7 separate regions of the Homo sapiens genome follow, and regions 2, 3, 4, 5, 6 and 7 are each linked to region 1. Evidence: promoter capture Hi-C in human tissues and cell types (Jung and others, 2019). All regions are on one chromosome and are shown on one strand. The core of a region is centred on a gene start or on the middle of the fragment in contact, and the rest is flanking DNA. Distances in the headings are between cores, read along the strand shown. Region 1 holds the start of PAIP2 (poly(A) binding protein interacting protein 2). Region 2 overlaps KDM3B (lysine demethylase 3B). Region 3 has its middle 30 kb from the start of EGR1. Region 4 has its middle 75 kb from the start of HSPA9. Region 5 overlaps CTNNA1 (catenin alpha 1). Region 6 overlaps CTNNA1 (catenin alpha 1). Region 7 overlaps CTNNA1 (catenin alpha 1).

What was found. Contacts are between HindIII fragments. The study calls those that stand out against the background at their distance.
Region 2: a fragment that was not itself captured here is called in contact with the fragment with the promoter of PAIP2 in region 1 in 1 of the 25 tissues and cell types used here (hippocampus).
Region 3: a fragment that was not itself captured here is called in contact with the fragment with the promoter of PAIP2 in region 1 in 1 of the 25 tissues and cell types used here (aorta).
Region 4: a contact is called between a fragment that was not itself captured here and the fragment with the promoter of PAIP2 in region 1, in 1 of the 25 tissues and cell types used here (dorsolateral prefrontal cortex).
Region 5: a fragment that was not itself captured here is called in contact with the fragment with the promoter of PAIP2 in region 1 in 1 of the 25 tissues and cell types used here (bladder).
Region 6: a contact is called between a fragment that was not itself captured here and the fragment with the promoter of PAIP2 in region 1, in 2 of the 25 tissues and cell types used here (dorsolateral prefrontal cortex and hippocampus).
Region 7: a contact is called between a fragment that was not itself captured here and the fragment with the promoter of PAIP2 in region 1, in 2 of the 25 tissues and cell types used here (IMR-90 fibroblasts and mesenchymal stem cells).

The regions. Positions count from the first base shown.
Region 1 is chr5:139,340,505-139,343,192 of GRCh38, reverse strand. It overlaps PAIP2 (poly(A) binding protein interacting protein 2), which reads right to left and starts at 1,339. Exons shown (of 4, transcript NM_016480.5): 1 at 1,213-1,339. The HindIII fragment of the contact is 8,924 bases long and covers 1-2,688 here.
Region 2 is chr5:138,388,826-138,391,513 of GRCh38, reverse strand. It overlaps KDM3B (lysine demethylase 3B), which reads right to left. Exons shown (of 24, transcript NM_016604.4): 8 at 1-501. Among named protein-coding and RNA genes, the nearest start is that of KDM3B, 37 kb to the right of the region's middle. The HindIII fragment of the contact is 4,652 bases long and covers 1-2,688 here.
Region 3 is chr5:138,494,012-138,496,699 of GRCh38, reverse strand. No RefSeq gene overlaps it. Among named protein-coding and RNA genes, the nearest start is that of EGR1, 30 kb to the right of the region's middle. The HindIII fragment of the contact is 6,051 bases long and covers 1-2,688 here.
Region 4 is chr5:138,648,734-138,651,421 of GRCh38, reverse strand. No RefSeq gene overlaps it. Among named protein-coding and RNA genes, the nearest start is that of HSPA9, 75 kb to the right of the region's middle. RefSeq lists an enhancer at 132-930. The HindIII fragment of the contact is 3,444 bases long and covers 1-2,688 here.
Region 5 is chr5:138,778,892-138,781,579 of GRCh38, reverse strand. The region is part of intron 1 of CTNNA1 (catenin alpha 1); the gene reads right to left. Among named protein-coding and RNA genes, the nearest start is that of CTNNA1-AS1, 26 kb to the right of the region's middle. The HindIII fragment of the contact is 5,060 bases long and covers 1-2,688 here.
Region 6 is chr5:138,797,359-138,800,046 of GRCh38, reverse strand. The region is part of intron 3 of CTNNA1 (catenin alpha 1); the gene reads right to left. Among named protein-coding and RNA genes, the nearest start is that of CTNNA1-AS1, 45 kb to the right of the region's middle. The HindIII fragment of the contact is 5,540 bases long and covers 1-2,688 here.
Region 7 is chr5:138,826,637-138,829,324 of GRCh38, reverse strand. CTNNA1 (catenin alpha 1) reads right to left here. Exons shown (of 18, transcript NM_001903.5): 7 at 1,607-1,810. Among named protein-coding and RNA genes, the nearest start is that of LRRTM2, 47 kb to the left of the region's middle. RefSeq lists an enhancer at 326-826. The HindIII fragment of the contact is 9,361 bases long and covers 1-2,688 here.

The DNA.
Region 1 (2,688 bases), core at 90-2,589:
CTTTCACTAACTGGAAACAGAATCACAAAAGCAAATAGTGGAGTCTCATTAAAAATTATTGTAGAGAACTTTTACTTATTGCAAACACAACCTACGCCAGAAGAAATTTCAAAAGCGACTTAATGAAAATATAAACCAACACCTGATCTAACTGTGCTAATGAAATCTGTGAAAAAACAATGCCACCACGTTTCAACATTAGCCAGCACACCCAACATGAACATCTACTTTCCGTTGAAATAAACGTCAAAGGCTGTCAGCTGCTACACCTTCCAAGGCAAATTGGAAGCCAAATTCTTTCTAGAGTTTGGGGTTTTTATGAGTTGATACGGGTGCCAAATCAGGGAAAAAAGAAACAAAAGGAAGCAGGTAAGACCCCTTTTAGGAGTCCCTAAAAAATATCACTGCTGGCTGCTGCAACAAATGTTTTGAAGACCTAAGTTCACCACAAGCCTTATTTATTTCTGGTGGCGATGGTGGGGAAGGAGGAGAGTAAGCACAGAAAATTATTAAAAGGTAAGAGGACCTTAAAGTTCATCTAACTCAACGCCCTCCTAGGGTAAGGGTTCCCAGTACCCCAAAGGTTCTTTTTTCCAGGGCATGAGCTGCAATACAACCAAAAATAAGGGGTAGCGATGGCGAAGAAACGGGAGAAAGACGATCTTCTGATCAGGCCCGTCGACGGTTGCAGCGTTCCCCCAAGACGCCAAGAGCCCGCCAGTCCCTCCGCCCCTCTCTCCCCAAACCCCAGCCTCGGCTGAGGCGCGCACGCGCAGCAAGTAGGGGCTGCGCGTGGCGACGCGCAGGCGTAAAGTGGGTAGAAACAATAAGCTTTGTTGCCGAGGCGGTGGGAGGGGGGCAGGGGAAAGGGTACCCGGCGGAGGGATAAAGGACCGGGAGAATGAGGAACAGGAGAAAGTGCTATCCCGGCAACCCTCGCGCCACTGAGGACCCGGATAGAGAGCTGCGAGATCCAAATCATTAATAATGACAATGAAAAAAAAGCGACGGCCATGTCTCGGAGAAGACAGAGACGAAGTCGGCCCAAGCTCATCCCTCAGACTTGGTGGAAAGAGGCAATGAACAACGGAGGCCGCAATGGACTCGGTGGCCAACCACCCAGGGAACCCTTTAGGCCCCTCTGCCGTCGCCGACTTGCTGTCCCTCGACCTCCGCACCCCTGTCGCCACTCTGCCCGAGAGGACCCCTCACCCAATGCACAGCAGCGGGGACGGCAGCCAACGAATCCTGTCGGCCTCCGCGGATCTCCACAGGCAGCGCCGCTCCCCCGCTCGACGTGCGCTTCGCCCGCCGCCTCCCTTCTCCAGTCCAAACAAACACCCCAGCCCGGAAGTGACTTCACTTCCGTCGCCGCCAACCCCGCCCTCTTGTTCTGTCAGCTCTGCCCTCCGAAGCCACTAGAGAGCGCGCGCGAGAACGCGCGACCCCGAAGTCTGTCTCCAAGGCTGCACACGTGTGCACGCGCAGCAGCCTTTCCAGCGCGCCCCTACGGCCGGCTGCCGGGTGTAGCAGGAACGCTGTCGCACGTTCTCTCTGGAAGGCAGGAATGGGGGCGTACCACTGTTCCCACACCCGCCCATCTTCCGAGAATGATGATATGCAATGAGTGAGGCAGCTGGGGACTGAAGAGCACCCTGACAAGATACACAGGCGTGGACTTTCACAGACATCACACACCCCCCCAAAAACGTAATATTTAGGTAATGACATAGCACACACATACCCATACACACCCCAAGAATGATACACAATGTCACACAAACAGCGACATGCACCGAGTCACGTCAAGATCCTGACACAGAAAAATAATAAACTAAGGGAAATCACAGAGGCGTACTAAATGATATGCAAACATCCGCACTCAGACATGTGCAGGCACAAAAACACACTTTTTGAAGCTGGATGCAAACGCAAAATACAAATACATGTGCAACTTCTTTGTGGCTAAAGGAGGAAATGCCCTGTCCACACAGGATAGAAAAGTGTGACCTCCGGGTTCAAGAATTTTGTAGTCCGTGATCCTGGGTGCACTGGCCCCATAGTTATTCTTACCCATGCTTCCTTCCTGTCATCGTTGACAAGCCCCAAGATATATTTCTAGTGACACTAAGCAATGTAAAGAAGAGAGTATGTTTTTGTTTTTTTGTTTTGTTTTGTTTTTTTGAGGCGGAGTCTGGCTCTCTTGCCCAGGCTGGAGTGCAGTGGCGCCATCTCGGCTCACTGCAACCTCCGCCTCCCGGGTTCAAGAGATTCTCCTGCCACAGCCTCCCAAGTAGCTGGGACTACAGGCGCACGCCAGCACACCCGGCCAATTTTTGTACTTTTAGTAGAGATAGGGGTTTCACCGTGTTGGCCAGGATGGTCTCGATCTCCTGACCTCGTGATCCACCCGCCTCCGCCTCTCAAAGTGCTAGGATTACAGGTGTGAGCCACCGCACCCGGCCGAGAGTATGTGTTTTACAAATCTGGATGTTCAAATGTGTAGATACTATCTTTGAAAAAGGGACACAAACTAATTTCTTCCCTTTGGAGAGGGCAAATGACCGACTAGGAAATGGGTGCAAATAACTATCCTTTTCTCCTGAAAAATTTGAATCTTTTAAAAACTATATGCTTGTAGTATTTACTAAGACAAAAAATTCCCTCCATGGGAAGGCTTGAATTTAG
Region 2 (2,688 bases), core at 72-2,571, 950 kb after region 1:
TTTGGGGGGCTGTAAAAATAGATTTTCATGATTCTCTGGGGTACGGGCATTTAGGAGGCTCCGTGGGAAGGCTGGAGTGAGGGTGGGCATGGACTCTGCAGGCACTTTCCGGTCCACAGAGCTGCCAGCCTTAGAGCCTGGCTTAGTGTCTGTTCCAAGAACGGATCTGCCTTTACACAGGCCTGAGCTCAGGCTCTCAAGGCTTTGTTTGAATGAGTCCCGACTAGAAGAATCATCAGCCAAACTCTCTGAAACAGTAGTGAAGTAGTTACTGGTAGGTAAAGTTTGGGACATGCATTGAAAAAACAAGTTTTTGGAGAGATCAGTGTCTTTCTGTGCCTCTTGTGCAGAGCTACAGCCAAAAGAGAAGCCCAAAGGTTTGTTCTCTGTGGCTAGAACACCATTGGACTGGCTCCTTCCACTTCCAAAAGTCAAAGGTTGCGATGAACTAGGGAGAGGTGCTCCAAATCCAGAAGAGGCCAGAATAGAATTTCTTGAATTCTGAAAGGAAGATAGCCTGAATTAGTGATGCTGGCTTCTCATGACAATCTAATGATCTCTTTCTTGGACCTCACTATCACCAGATCAACATTTCTTGGGGGTCCATCAACTTTTCTCTTTTACAATTCCATGGATCTGCTCTTGTAACTGGAGTTCACCAGCAGTGGGGAAGAAATCTGCCACAGACTACACTGAGGGCATCTTTAGCAAGGTGAACCAGAGATAGCAGGATGTCATTCATCCTGCAATTCCCTTGGTTGTTATCCAATTGGTCGTCACAGTGCTAGAAGGCCTTGTAGGCTTTTTGGTATCTATTTGGAAGTGAAGAGCTCCTCTAAGGAACTGGAGAAAAGGGTTCCTGAATAGACATCAGCTTTTACAGTGACCCCTGTAATATTAATATATCTCAATGACCTTGGGAGCTATTGTTAAAGTTTTGATTTATTTAGGCTACTGTAAAATTGCCCATTTTACAAAAAGTGGCTTTAATCCTAGGACAAGCCTACTGCACGTTAAAGAAAAGTGTTTTCCTTATTAATCTGAAAGTCCACAACATGGACCCTTTTGGATTTCGGCATCTATTTATGGGTTCAAGTCAACCTACAAGTTGAATATCTACTTCAATTAACGTTAGACGTAAAGATGCTAAATTAAAGAAAGCAAGCTATTTACCAAGACCTTTGTTATAATTAGAATCTAATAAGAATCCAAAGAGGATAAATGTATATACTGACAATATCCCAAAAAAAGCCTTCAGCATAACTGAAGAATGAAATAACAGAACACTCCCCTTTCCTTCTTTTACCTTCAAAATGTTAACTTCTGCTTGTGAATGACTGTATAAAGAAGAATGGGGCCTGGCGCGGTGGCTCATGCCTGTAATCCCAGTACTTTGGGAGGCTGACATGGGCGGATCACGAGGTCTGGAGGTCAAGACCATCCTGGCCAACACGGTGAAACCCTGTCTCTACTAAAAATACAAAAAATGAGCCGGGCATGGTGGCACGTGCCTGTAGTCCCAGCTACTCGGAAGGCTGAGGCAGGAGAATTGCTTGAACCCAGGAGGCGGAGGTTGCAGTGAGCCCAGATCGTGCCACTGCACTCCAGCCTGGCAACAGAGCAAGATTCCCTCACAAAAACAAAAAAAAGGAAGGACTTTCCTATATATTAATGTACCCAGATACAGACAAGAGAAAGGGACACACACACACACACACACACACACACACAGAGAGAGAGAGAGAGAGAGAAGAGACCCATAGGTAGGTATGAGCCCAAACTTATATTTATTAATTTAATAAAACCCAGATCCTAGTACTTGACTTGCTAACCATAGATTACTTTCAAGTAGTAGAGGATGATATACCTTAATATTCACTCTAAAACACTGGAAATAAAAATTATTCCATCACCACTTAATGGATATGGAGTTTTCCTTTTGGGGTGATGAAATTTCTGGATCTAGATAGTCTTCATAGTTTCGCAACACTGTAAATGTACTAAATGCCACAGAATTGTACATTTTAAAGTCGTAAGTTTTACATTATGTGTATTTTACTACAATTAAAAAAAAAGTGATTCCCGATAAACAAAAGGGCTATTCTCTTATAAAGAGGGGAGAGAGTTTTAATTAAACTATTCTTTAAATACACAAGAGGAGTTAACATTCAGGATTTCCTTGAGGAGTAGCATAGAGACGTACGAATCAAGCAGGCCACCTAGGCTTGCCTCTGTCTCTGCTACAGAGACTACTTCAGGGTATTTTAGAGTTAAAAAATAAAACTCCTTTTCTTTTTTCTTTTATCTTCCTACTAACCAGTAAGTATTGACTTCAACTTACTCCCTACAATAGAGAAAAAGAACAGACACAGCCCTGAGGTGCTGCTGTTGCTTCACAGGCAGGATTTGGCCAGGAGCCTTGATACCTGCATGACTGCAAGGAACTAGCATGGGTAGCTCATGTTTCACTCCTAAAGTTACCCTTTAAAAATAAATACACACATGAATGAAAAATAATTTGGATAGTCTTTCATTTTCCTTCAAATGATTAAATTCCAAATCCTTTTCTTATAAAAAGGTGATGAGAAACTCATGTCAAGCCAGTTTTTAGGGCAAGAAGTTTCCTGTTGGCTCTGTCTTTATTTTAGATCAGCCATTGTAATGAAAACATTCATTTCTACACATTTA
Region 3 (2,688 bases), core at 111-2,610, 850 kb after region 1:
CTGAGACCACACCTGCACTCCAGCCTGGGTGACAGAGCAAGACTGTCTCAAAATGAAATAAATGTGAGCTGGCCGGGTGCAGTGGCTCATGCCTGTAATCCAAGCACTTGGGGAGGCCGAGGCGGGCAGATCACAAGGTCAAGAGATCGAGACCATTCTGCCCAACATGGTGAAACCCCGTCTCTACTAAAAATACAAAAAATTAGCCAGGCGTGGTGGCAGGCACCTGTAGTCCCAGCTACTCCAGAGGCTGAGGCAGGAGAATGGCATGAACCCAGGAGGCGGAGCTTGCAGTGAGCCGAGATCGTGCCACTGCACTCCAGCCTGGGTGACAGAGCAAGACTCCATCTCAAAAAATAAATAAATAAATAAATAAAATGTTAGCTATATACACATTTAAGAAAGATTCATAAGAACAAGGATTGGCCAGGCGTGGTGGCTTATGCCTGTAATCCCAGCACTTTGGGAGGCCGAGGCGGGTGGATCACCTGAGGTCGGGAGTTCGAGACCAGCCTGGCCAACATGGAGAAACCCCGTCTCTACTAAAAATACAAAATTAGCTGGGCATGGTGGCGCATGCCTGTAATCCCAGCTATTCGGGAGGCTGAGGCAGGAGAATTGCTTGAACCTGGGAGGCGTAGGTTGTGGTGAGCCAAGATCACTCCATTGCACTCCAGCCTGGGCAACAAGAGCGAAACTGTCTCAAAAAAAAAAAACAAAACAAGGATTATTTACTCAATTTTTGGTGAATCAGGGATGTTGTGGTGGTGGGTTACATGAAGAAATAAATGTTTGCAAAACAAAAATTGCAAGGAGCACCTCCTACTGCTTCACCTGCCTGAGTTCAAAAACAATCACAAATATGGAAGGCTTGCTGAGCACTTTCATATGGCATTGTTTGTCATTGTGCACCATATGATTATTGGATATTTACAGATTTTTATTTGACAATAATTTGTATTCATTCATTCATTTTCCACCCCACTTCTTCCAGTTGCGGGTCTCAGGTGGCAGGAGCCCATCCCAGTAGCTTTCAGGGCACAAGGAAAACACCAACCCTAGACAAGATGCCATTCCACGGCAGGGCACACTCACAAACACACCCACACTCATTCATCCAGCGACCATTTAGACATGCTGATTCATCTAATGAGTACATCTTTGAGATGTGTAAGGAGACCAGAGTTCCCAGAGAAAGCCCATGCAGACACGGGGAGAACGTACCAACTCCACCCAAACAACTCCAGCTGAAAACTGATTTTTTTTCTCATCAATGTTATAAGGAAAGGACGTTGAACTGAATAAAATGACGTTTTTTGAGGACCTGTAGTCAACAAGGCAGACACAGTCCGTGTCAATAAAGAGCGCTCAATCTAGTGGCAAACCCAGCCAAAGAAAAAATGCCATGGGCCGGGTGCCGTGGCTCACGCCTGTAATCCCAGCACTTTGAGAGGCCGAGGTGGGAAGATCACCTGAGGTCAGGAGTTCTAGACCAGCCTGGCCAACATGGTGAAACCCCATCTCTACTAAAAAAAATTTAAAAATTAGCCGGGGGTGGTAGCGGACGCCTGTAATCCCAGCTACTTGGGAGGCTGAGGCAGGTGAATTGTTGAACCCAGGAGGCGGAGGTTGCAGTGAGCCAAGATGGCGCCACGGCACTCCAGCCTGGGCAACAAGAGCGAAACTCCATCTCAAAAAAAAAGAAAAAAGAAAAAAAAAAAGCCCTGGTTTGGTGGTTAAAAGCACAGAGGGTTTTGTGGGGCCGGGAGACAAAAGTGGCACCCAATCCACTGGCAAGAGAAGGTTTGGTTTCTTGTTTCTTTTTTAGACGGAGTCTTGCTCTGTCACCCAGGCTAATTTTTGTATTTTTTTTAGAGACAGGGTTTCACCGTGTTAGCCAGGATGGTCTCGATCTTCTGACCTTGTGATCCGCCCGCCTCGGCCTCCCAAAGTGCTGGGATTACAGGCGTGAGCCACCGCGCCCAGCTTGAGAAGGTTTGGTTTCTGTCTGGAAATCTCATTTTGTGGAGGAAGCAAGCACAGGAAAACAATGAGAAAAAAATGCAGGAAATAACAGGCGGCTGTGGTATTATTGGGTGTCACATTGGCAGTTGTTGAAAGATTATCAATCCCAGGCTCCAGTATTCCTAACAGGCCCGAAAGCCAGCCCCAGGACCACTAGAGCATAGGTCCTCTCTTAAGGCAGGGAATAGCCCAGGACCCTTACTGTTTCATAGGGCTTTCAAAGAATCAAGGCCCCCACACGGGCGCAGTGGCTCGCGCCTGTAATCCCAGCACTTTGGGAAGCCGAGGCGGGAGGATCGCAAGGTCAGGAGTTCAAGAGCAGCCTGGCCAATATGGTGAAACCCCTTCTCTACTAAAAATACAAAAAAATTAGCCGGACATGGTGGCGCATTCCTGTAATCCCAGCTACTCGGGAGGCTGAGGCAGGAGAATTGCTTGAAACCGGGAGGCGGAGGTTGCAGTGAGCCAAGATCAGACCACTGCACTCCAGCCTGGGTGACACAGTGAGACTCCGTCTCAAAAAAAAAAGAATCAAGGACCCTGCACACAGAAGAGAATAAAAGCCCTACCCAAGCAGAGGCCTGGGGTTCCTGCAAATTCTGTAGCAGCCTACAGGAGCTCCCCTCACACCTTGCCCCTTGGCTAAGCTCAATCATAAATAGC
Region 4 (2,688 bases), core at 116-2,615, 690 kb after region 1:
AGTCTCATTCCCACTGCCCTTCACCGTGCTGCAAGGACAGTTCAACGTAATATATAATTACCGCCGCCCCACAAGGCTGCACTGTACACAGAGCTCCCACCTTCCTCCCGCTCCCTCCTGCCTGCCTTCAGACTATAAATCAGTTTTCAATCCTGAATGCTACCTGTAAATGTTCGAGCTCAGGATCCTCGCCTCATATTCCTATGTCCCTGGGGGGTGGTTCAGGATGTGAGTGGCTTCCCCCAGTCCTGATTCTGACATCCCAGCCCCTGATTGATGGTGAGAGGAGCAGCAGGGAAGCTGGAAATGGCTCTAGGGTCTCTGGAGCCCTGGCCTGGGGAGAGGGGTGGGCAGCTCTGGATCTGCCTGACTCAGCCAAGCCTGAACTGGATGCTCCCCAGTGTACAGAACTGTGGACATGCTCCGGACCAATTGGTGGGAAGGCATTGAAACTGACCCCTCCCCGAAAATGGCAACTTCTTTCCAGCCTTGTCAGATGTGCCAGAGCAGGCAGGTGGGCACGTTCACTGGAGTGTCCAAAAGACGGCAGCCTCGCCATAGGCTGATCTGGGGATGAAGAGGCACAGCCATGCCTTTCCCCTGAGCTGGGATGGGAAATCCCATGATGCACCTTTGAGGTGATAAAAGGACAAATCAAGAAAGAAATTCTTGGCCAGGCATTGTGGCTCATGCCTGTAATCCCAGCACTTTGGGAGACCGAGGCAGGCGGATCACCTGGTGAAACCCTGTCTCTACTAAAAATACAAAAATTATCGAGGCATGGTGCCATATGCCTGTAATCCCAGCTACTTGGGAGGCTGAGGCAGGAGAATCTCCTAAAACCCAGAGGAGGAGGTTGCAGTGAGCCGAGATTGTGCCACTGCATTCCAGCCTGAGTGACAGATCAAAACTCTGTCTCAAAAAAAAAAAAAAAAACCACACACACACACACACACACACAGAAAGAAAGAAATTTTTCTTTCTTCCTTTTTTTTTTTTTCTTTTTTAGGAGACAGAGTTGCCCCGGCTGGAGTGCAGTCGTGCGAAGCTGGCTCCCTGAAGCCTCAACTGCAGGTGTGTTATGTGTCCACCATTTACTGATCACCCCATCTGAAGACGGTCCCCCGGCCCTGACCTATTACTTTCTATCTTAGCGCCCTGTTTGTTATGGTACTAGGTATAATTCATATTATTCCATATTGTCTTGTGTCTTCATTTTTTGTGGGTTTTCACTCCTGGAGTGGAAGCTCTGTGAAGGCAGGGGCCACATTGCCTGGTCAACACTGTATTCCAGTTACTTAGCATCAAGCTTCACACATCATGGTGTTAGTTAAATACTCTTTGAATGAACTGAATGCATGGAGCCGGGGTGGGGTGGCTGCCAAAGAGAAGGTCTTCAAAGCTGAGGCTGACTCTGCCTGCTCCCCTGTGGCAGCCCCATCTGCAGACAGCAGCTGGGCAGATTCCTCCTTCCCTAGGAGACCAGGCTTATGACCCCGGGGGAATTGAGAGGCCTCTCCAGACCTTGGCCTCCTTCCTCTCCCTTGGGAAAACTCCAGTTGTGACCCCTCCTAGCTGTCCCCGGAGCTGCCTTCTGAGGACCAGGGGTTAATGGTCAGTGTTTATCACCTCCCACTCCCTGACAAGATCCCCAGGTCACTGGAAAGCTTGGCCCAGCCCAAACTGATACCTTGCATGGGCCAGGGACTCAATCTGGGGACAGCAAAGAGGGACTGAGGAGGAAGCTCCTCCACGCATTATAATATCCATGAAGTGAATGCAAATGAACTGAAAGCACCTTTTGAATAAGCAGCTTTTACTGAGGGAGCTGCTCTAATCCCTAAATGGCTTTGCTGACAGGGAGGAGCTTCCCAGTGGTGGAAGGGGTGGGAAATGGGGACACACTGTCAGGAACCGGCTCTGCAGCGCCCTTGTCCCTGCACTTTTAGATTCCGGACACGCTTCTTGTGGCTAATGGAACTCGGAGATCTCTAACCTTGGCCTCCATATTCCACTCCCTGCCCCCGCCCCCAGAGTCTGCGGAGCCCAGCTTCTGTGTTTCCAGGAGGCTGAGGCTGCTGGGTGCTGGGTCTCAGTGTCGAGTGATTCTCTGGGACTGGAAGCAGCTGAGTGTGCCTCCAGTGATGTAGCCCTGTGGGCTCTCTGGTGACCATGTGAGACATCCCTGGGCCTGTGTGTAAAGGTGTGTGGCCGTGTGCACCAGTGGGTTTGTGTCCATTTACACACCTCCTGGAAACAAGTGTCATTGTGTTTGTGCCTCTGTCTGTCCCCACCCCCACATCTCCATCCATCTGTATTCCTCCCCAGGTTAGCGGGGGCTGGCCTCAGCTGGGGAATCATGCTTTTTCAAGGACTAATGACTTTTATCAGAATGATAATGAACTGATGACACAGGGAGGCCCTGGGCTCTGGAGAGAAGCCAGAGAAGGAGCAGTTGGGGACAGAGAGGAGGCTGGTAGGGTTGGGAGGCTAGAGGACTATGCCTCCCAGAAAGGCCAGCCAGCTCCATTCCTCTTTCAGTGGGGGAAGGAGACAGGGACAGAGGAAACCCAGGGGATGTTGGAAACACATTCTCCATTTCCCTTCCCTGTCCCGCCTGCCTCTTCCTGAACCTTCCATTCCCTGCTTTGCTATTCTTCTCGCCCTCCCAGAGGACTCCCCTTGACT
Region 5 (2,688 bases), core at 134-2,633, 560 kb after region 1:
CTACTTTCTTTTTTTTTTTTTTTTTGAGACAGAGTCTTGCTCTTTCGCCCAGGCTGGAGGGCAGTGGTGGATCTCAGCTCACTGCAAGCTCCGCCTCCTGGGTTCACGCCATTCTCTGGCCTCAGCCTCCCAAGTGGCTGTGACTACAGGGGCCCGCCACCACGCCCGGCTAATTTTTTTGCATTTTTAGTAGAGACGGGGTTTCACCGTGTTAGCCAGGATATGATGGTCTCGATCTCCTGACCTCATGATCCACCTGCCTCGGCCTCCCAAAGTGCTGGGATTATAGGCGTGAGCCACCGCACCCGGCCAAAAGCTACTTTCAAAGACACTGCTTCAAAAACGAATACAGAAGATCCTGATTTTTCCTACTCCACAACATTCATGGTACAGTAGTATCTAAAAGGTATGCTTCACTTCATTTTTTGATGGATTCCTAGAGAAGGACTTGTCTTATTCTATTAAAACATAATGTTTAAATCAGCTGCCCTCTGCACCCACAGCTATTATCACTCATAGCCAGAAGAAATTTCAAATCACACTTAGTCAAATATCACTGTATCAGTGTCAAGAGAAACTTCTGTCAGACAGCGGCTTTAAGAATAGGGAGAAAACATCAACGAAAATAACAGTTAGTCTTTTCTTCTAAAAGTAGTGCCTTCAATTATTAAAGAAAAAAAGAAAAGAAAAGGCATGAAGCTGAGGTAAACACTAATATAAACTTTCTAGACAACAAACTGCTGGTAGACATTTAAAAGCTTAAAGGCTGGGCGTGGTGGCTCACTCCTGTAATCCCAGCACTTTGGGAAGCCAAGGCGGGCAGATCACCTGAGGTCGGGAGTTCGACACCAGCCTGACCAACAAGGATAAACCCTGTCTCTACTAAAAATACAAAATTAGCCAGGCTGGTGGTGCACGCCTGTAATCCCAGCTACTCGGGAGGCTGAGGCAGAAGAATCGCTTGAACCCGGGAGGCAGAGGCTGCAGTGAGCCGAGATTGTGCCATTGCACTCCAGCCTGGGCAACAAGAAAAAAACTCCATCTTAAAAAATAATAATAATAATAAAAATTAAAAAAATAAAATCTTGGCCAGGCGCAGTGGCTCACGCCTGTAATCCCAGCACTTTGGGAGGCTGAGGCGGGCAGATCATGAGGTCAGGAGATTGAGACCATCCTGCCTAACACGGTGAAACCCAGTCTCTACTAAAAATACAAAAAAAAAATTAGCCAGGCGCAGTGGCGGGCACCTGTAGTCCCAGCTACTCGGGAGGCTGAGGCAGGAAAATGGCGTGAACCCCAGAGACGGAGCTTGCAGTAGCAGAGATAGCGCCACTGCAGTCCGGCCTGGGCGAAAGAGCAAGACTCCGTCTCAAAAAAATAAAAAATAAAATAAATAAATAAAATAAAATCTTTAAAAAGTACATTTGTATGACCCAGAAAATCTACTGCTAAAATCTTATTCTAAAGTTAAGGAACATGTAAAAACTGGGATACAATGATGTTCACAACACTGCTTTATATAAACATTAAAAGTTATAAATTACCTAAATTTCAAACAACAGATCACTCAATAAATTATGTAACAATGACACAACGGGCTACAATGTTACTCTTAAAAACAATGTTGGCAAATTAAAAAACAAAACAACCAGCCTGGCCAACATAGTGAAACCCCGTCTCTATTAAAACTACAAAAATTAGTCCAGTGTGGTGGTACACGCCCGTAATCCCAGCTGCTCAGGAGGCTGAGGCAGGAAAACCACTTGAACCTGGGAGGTGGAGGTTGCAGTGAGCCAAGATCGCACCACTGCACTCCAGCCTGGGCAACAGAGCAAGCTCTTGTCTCAAAAAAAAAACAAAAACAAAAAAAAACCAGTGTTATCAGTGCCCAAGTATTTATTTCTATTAAATACCATTTGCATGGTGGTTCATGCCTGTGATACCAGCACTTTGGAAGGCCAAGGCAGGAGGATCACTTAAGCCCAGGAGTTTGAGACCAGCCTGGGCCACACAGAGAGATCCCATTTCTACTTATTTTTTTTTTAAAAAACGGACCATTTCCCATTAATAGAAACCAAAGTTCCAGGTCTGAAGCACTGTATTGTGCGGAAAGGGGACAAGACTAACAAGATCATATCAAAAGACACAGGAAGCAAGGGCTCCCATCAGCCAAATTTAGGACAACTATCAAAGAGAATAATGACTGTAACTGTCTGTAACTAAATAATTAAATAAATATCCTTAAGACCATAGGGATCCTCAAAAGAAAGGGTATGGGGAGGGAATTTCTTTACCATGAATCTAGAATAGAATTAGAAAATGACCATCTTGCAACCCCCACTGGTAAAAACTGATCCAGCCAAGGATTAGCAATGAATGTCAAAACTACTGGGTGAAAACTGGCCAGGCATGGTGGTTCATGCTTGTAATTCCAGCACTTAGGGAGGCCAAAGTGGGTGGATCACCTGAGGTCAGGAGTTCGAGACCAGCCTGGCCAATGTGGTGAAACCCTCTCTCTACTAAAAATACAAAAATTAGCCAGGCGTAGTGGCGGTTGCTTGTGATCGCAGCTACTCATGAGGCTGAGCCAGGAGAATCGCTGGAACCTGGGAGGCAGAGGTTGCAATGAGCCGAGATCATGCCACTGCACTCCAGCCTAGGCAACAGAGCAAGATTCCATCTCAAAAA
Region 6 (2,688 bases), core at 101-2,600, 540 kb after region 1:
CGAGCACTTGTAATCCCAGCTACTGGAGAGGCTGAGACACGAGAATCGATTGAACCCAGGAGGCAGAGGTTGCAGTGAGCCGAGATGGCACCACTGCACTCCAGACTGGGCGACAGAGCAAGACTCTGTCTCTAAATACACACATACACACACACATACATACATACATACATACATACATACATACATCTACATCTACTCTAATTTATTTTAGCTCACAGCCCTAATGACAAATCCTTAATTTCATGGCTAACATAAAGTATTAGTAATGAAAAAATACATCAGAAACACACTGTATAATGGGTTAAAATATTCACACTTTCTCCATCAGCAAAACTATAAACAAGTATATAAATAAGCCCCCAGCTAAAAATGAGGTCCTCAAACTTCTGAATGGTCATCCTTACAAAAAAAAAAAAAATGACACTAAGACTAACTTGAGATGTTTAATAAGTTTCATTTCAAAATTAAATGTAAAAAGAACCCATGCTCAAAACCTTGCTTAAAAAAATTGTAAAAAGGAATCAACAACTTTTTTTTCCTCCATCTCTCATGTCTCTTAAAAGAACTCTAAAAATAAAAAAAGATGGCCAGGTATGGTGGTCACGCCTGTAATCCCAGCACTTTGGAAGGCCGAGGTGGGTGGATCACCTGAAGTCAGGAGTTCGAGACCAGTCTGACCAACATGGCAAAACCCCATCTCTACTAAAAGTACAAAATTAGCCAGGCGTGGTGGCACATGCCTGTAATCCCACCTACTCAGGAGGCAGAGGCAGGAGAATTGCCTGAACCCGGAAGGCAGAGGTTGCAGTGAACCGAGGTCACGCCATTGCACTCCAGCCTGGGCAACAAGAGCGAAACTCTGTCTAAAAAAACAAAATGTGGCAGAAGGCTGGGCACGATGGCTCAGCACTTTGGGAGGCTGAGGGTAGGGGATTACTTGAGATCAGAGGTTCAAGACCAGAACTACTAAAAAATAATAATACAAAAATTAGCCAGGCACAGTGGCCTGGGTGACAGAGTAAGACTCCATCTCAAAAAAAATTTTTTTTAATAAAAAAAATTAAAAATTTAAAAAGATACCTGTTAGTTTAAATTTATAAGATATCAAAAGTGCTCTCTGCACACAAAAGGGCAAACTGGGGAAACTGAGGTAGACAGGAACTATATCCAAGATCGCACGGTTGTAAAACCTGACTTTGTCCCAGCTGTTTCCAGTCAACTACACTACATCTACTAACAAAGGAGATGAAACTTAAGAGAGCTCAATACTACTGTACCATCTGCCATGAAATAAAATCTGTCATCCCCTGATGTTCTCTCCTGAGCTGGGAATAAAATAAGTTCCTCTGGAGTTTAAAACAAAGACAATGGGCAATTATAAAGTAAACAAACAAACAAAAAAACCCACAATTCTTTATTAGGAGAAGACAAAATCAAGAAGTTTTTGAAGCATCAAATATCATGAGTAAATTCCCCTGAAAGCAACCAAACTTTATAAAGTTACGGGGAAAGGATAGGCTTGGAAAATATTTGGGTGATGGATAAAAAAAACAAAAGGCTTGTTTGTTTTAACCTGAACCTGTTACATTGCTCCTTTAAAACAAAGAATGCTATGAAGTAATGTTAATGAATATAACTACTTCTCTCCCAGAACACTACTTGGTGTAGATGAAATAAGGTATTGGAACTGGGTCTAAATCCAGCTTCGATATTTGGCAGCTGTGTTACTTTGGGTTGTTTTATCTCTAGCTGTTTTCTTTTCTGTAAAATGAGTACACATCTCCCATACCTTACTCAGTTGTTTTGAAAATTAAATGAAATAATATATGCAAAGCTCAACAAATACTTCTGTGCCCCCTTCTATTTTTCCATCTACTTTTTCCAGTTTTTAAACCTATTTAGAACATGTCATTATCCACACACCAGCTGTTTCTTACCTTTTTAGAAATAAAGTCATGATACCAAGTTTCCTAAAGGACAGAGGAAATGTTAGCTTTTAATTTTAAATGCTGAAGCTGTAAAGGATGAGGGGAGCTTCCTTCACTCCACTGTCTATAGTGCAGAAAGTAGTAATAATTGTTCCTTTTGTGCTAATAGCTACAACCAAAGCTTGCTGTGCCTTACGTTTTTCCAACTGCTTTTTTTAAATTTTTTTTTTAGCAGTTTTTTTGTTTTGTTTTGTTTCATTTTGTTTTAAAGAAGTTCTCAAGTCAAGCTGGGATTCCTTCCAGTTCTCAGGAACTGGTCATCTTCCTCATCTATCCCATTTACAGTGTCACATCCCAAAATTCTACAGTATACTACAAAAGAAAGGTTCCCAACCACAACGTAATGGCTCAGAAATCCAGCTATGGAAACATCTCTACTGCCTGTAAAAGTCCTCCAAAAACCTCAATAAATAGGGCAAAGTTATATCTCCTTCCCCAAAATAATACTAAGGATACTTTTAAATAGCTTCTTCACCAGAACCTTTCTACCTTTAAGGTCCAGAAAAAATATTTTTGCCAGCCCAGTAGAGAAACACAGCTTATCTTCGATAAATTATACAATCTGCCCCCACCCAGGTATCTTCATTAATGGAAATGATTTTCATTTCCACTTTAAATAGCAGATATATAACAATCTGTACTGCACAGTGAGAATGGAGATCACAATGTGTTTATGTCCTGGGAAAGGGATGGGATG
Region 7 (2,688 bases), core at 56-2,555, 510 kb after region 1:
TTAAGACTGCAACATTGTGAGCCATTCTGCAACATATCCATCTTTTAAAATATTTTCTAATGTTCAATCTTAGCTATGGATTTTTAAATGTGTCCCACATTTTCACTGTGACTTAAAAACCACTTTTTCCATTTGATTTAACAAAACCTCTAATCTCATTTTTCTTAAGTAGACTGCCTATAATCAAAACATGGCTTTTTTTTTTGAGACACTCTCGCTCTGTCGCCCAGGCTGGAGCACAGTGGCGCGACCATGGTTCACTGTAGCCACAACCTCCCAGGCTTAAGCGATTCTTCCGCCTCAGCCTCCCGAGTAGCTGAGACCAGGCGTGCGCCACCATGCCCAGTTAACTTTTGTATTTTTTGTAGAGATGGGATTTCACCATGTTGCCCAAGATGGTCTCAAACTCTTGGGCTCACGCAATCCACCCACCTCAGCCTCCCAAAACGCTGGGACTACAGGCTTGAACCATCATGCCCAGGGGGCAATGGCTTTAAAAAAATTCAATATGCATCACTAATTTCACAGTATGGTAGAGACAAGATAAACAGAGGAAGGCATTCATCTTCACCCTAGGAATTCCACCATGATTTACCATCACCCATTAACTTTTACAGGCCTGTAAGTGAACAGACAAGATGTATGGCAAACGAACAAATGAGAAAGAACCAAGATCTTTTTTTTAGGTGTTAAACAGGTAAAAAACGCTAGTGATGACAACTAATTTGTGTTGTTGTCCTTCTTCCCCTTAAAATGATTTCATATAATTTTTACTTAATTTATTGCTAATTAGCTACAGTAAAATATTGGGTCCAAGGTCTAAATGACAGGAACCCTAAGCTAGCATTAAATAACCAGAATAGAAGAAGTATAAGCGAAGGAAAAAAAGAAAGACATATGGCAACAGAGAAAAATCAACAAATATAGAATTTTCTATGGCCTTTTAAAAAAAAAGTGGGTATCAAATTTCATAGCCTGGGTTTTTATGCACAAACCTTCAAAATTCAAAAACACTATCCAGAGTTTGCTTTATGTAACTCTACTTGGCAATTATCTACTCTTGTGACATTCAATATGGTTCACGAAAAAACTTTCACAACTATAAATATTGAGGAGGCAGGTTTTCAACATTCCCTTTTGCCCAAAATTAGCCACCTACTTGGGATAATGAAACTTTAGTGGTATAGAAGGTCATTATTCTTTGGAGAGGCATGCTAAAATATTAGAGGTGAAGCATCACAATGTCTACAACTTTCTTCCAAAGGCTTCGGGGGAAAAAAGGATGTTTGTGTATATACCATACATACATATACATTTATATATACACACACCTACACATGTATCTACATGTTAATTGATGAATACAGATAAATTTCCTAGGTATTCACTGTATGATTTTTATAAGTTGAAAATTTCTCAATAAGCTGGAGAGAGGAAAGAGCCACTTAGCCATTTATCCATTTCTTTAAAAATCTGACCTACTCCCAAAAATCAAGGAGTCAAGGACATATTTGGTATTTATAGTGAAAACATCTCAGATCCAACATGTTATAGAAAACTCCTCATCCATAAATATCTTACTTCAAAGAAAAGCTGTCAAACTCACATTGCCCATGTACTCCGAAAGCAGGTCCTGCAGGGCCTGGCGGACAGCATTACACTCTGCCACAATTCGCTCACGACGGTCATCACGCGTGCAGGACGAGTCGGCCATCAAGGCAGCCCCACTAATGATGCTTTCCAGACGCTCCTCCAGGGAAGGCCTAAAGCGCTCCTCGCTGAAGCTCAAGGGGTCCACAATGATTTGTTTCTGCAGAGAAAGTATTACCGAATGTTAGTACTCATCTCTGTTCCCTTCTTTATTCAAGGTGAGAAAAGTGTTATTAGTAATATCAAGATTTAACACAAAAATTCCAACATCTGAAAGAAAGTTATACTTCTTAGCAGGTAAGGGGCTGTCCCACAGAAGATGGCCTACTGTTGATCACTCCTCAAAGAAAGCAGTGGAAGTAATGCTATGTAGCCAAACAAGGCATGATAAGGTATGATACCACAAATACAAACATATCATGCTCACACAACTTATTCTGAACATCTAAAGGTAAACCCGTATAAGACTAGCAATTCAAATCATCAGATGAGAATTACAAGGAAAATAAAAGTTACCTCTTACTTGCAGAATATAAAACTGCCATGTGATATTTAGAACTGTTGCACCACAAAAAAATTAAAAAATAAAAGCCAAACAAGCCAGGTGTGGTGGCTTATGCCTGTAATCTCAACACTTTGAGAGATTGAAGGAGGATTGTTTGAGGCCAGTTGAACACCAGCCTAGGCAACGAGGCAAGACCCTGTCTCTACAAAAAAATAAAATAAGTTGGGCATGGTGGCACACGCCTATAGTCCCAGCTACTCGGGAGGATCACTTGAACCCAGAAGTTCAAGGCTGCAGTGAGCTATGATTGTGCCACTGCACTCCAGCCTGGGTAACAGAGCAAGACTTTGTCTCTTAAAATATATACACGTGTGCGCACACATACAAACTGATCTCTAACCTTAAAGTTTCAGAAAGAAATGCATTTACAATGAATTTCCATCTATTTGCCTCATCTTACACATCTAATCAAGTTTTCTAAATAATTCAGTCTCAAATTTATCCTGTTATGTCTAAATTAGAGACTTCCTTTC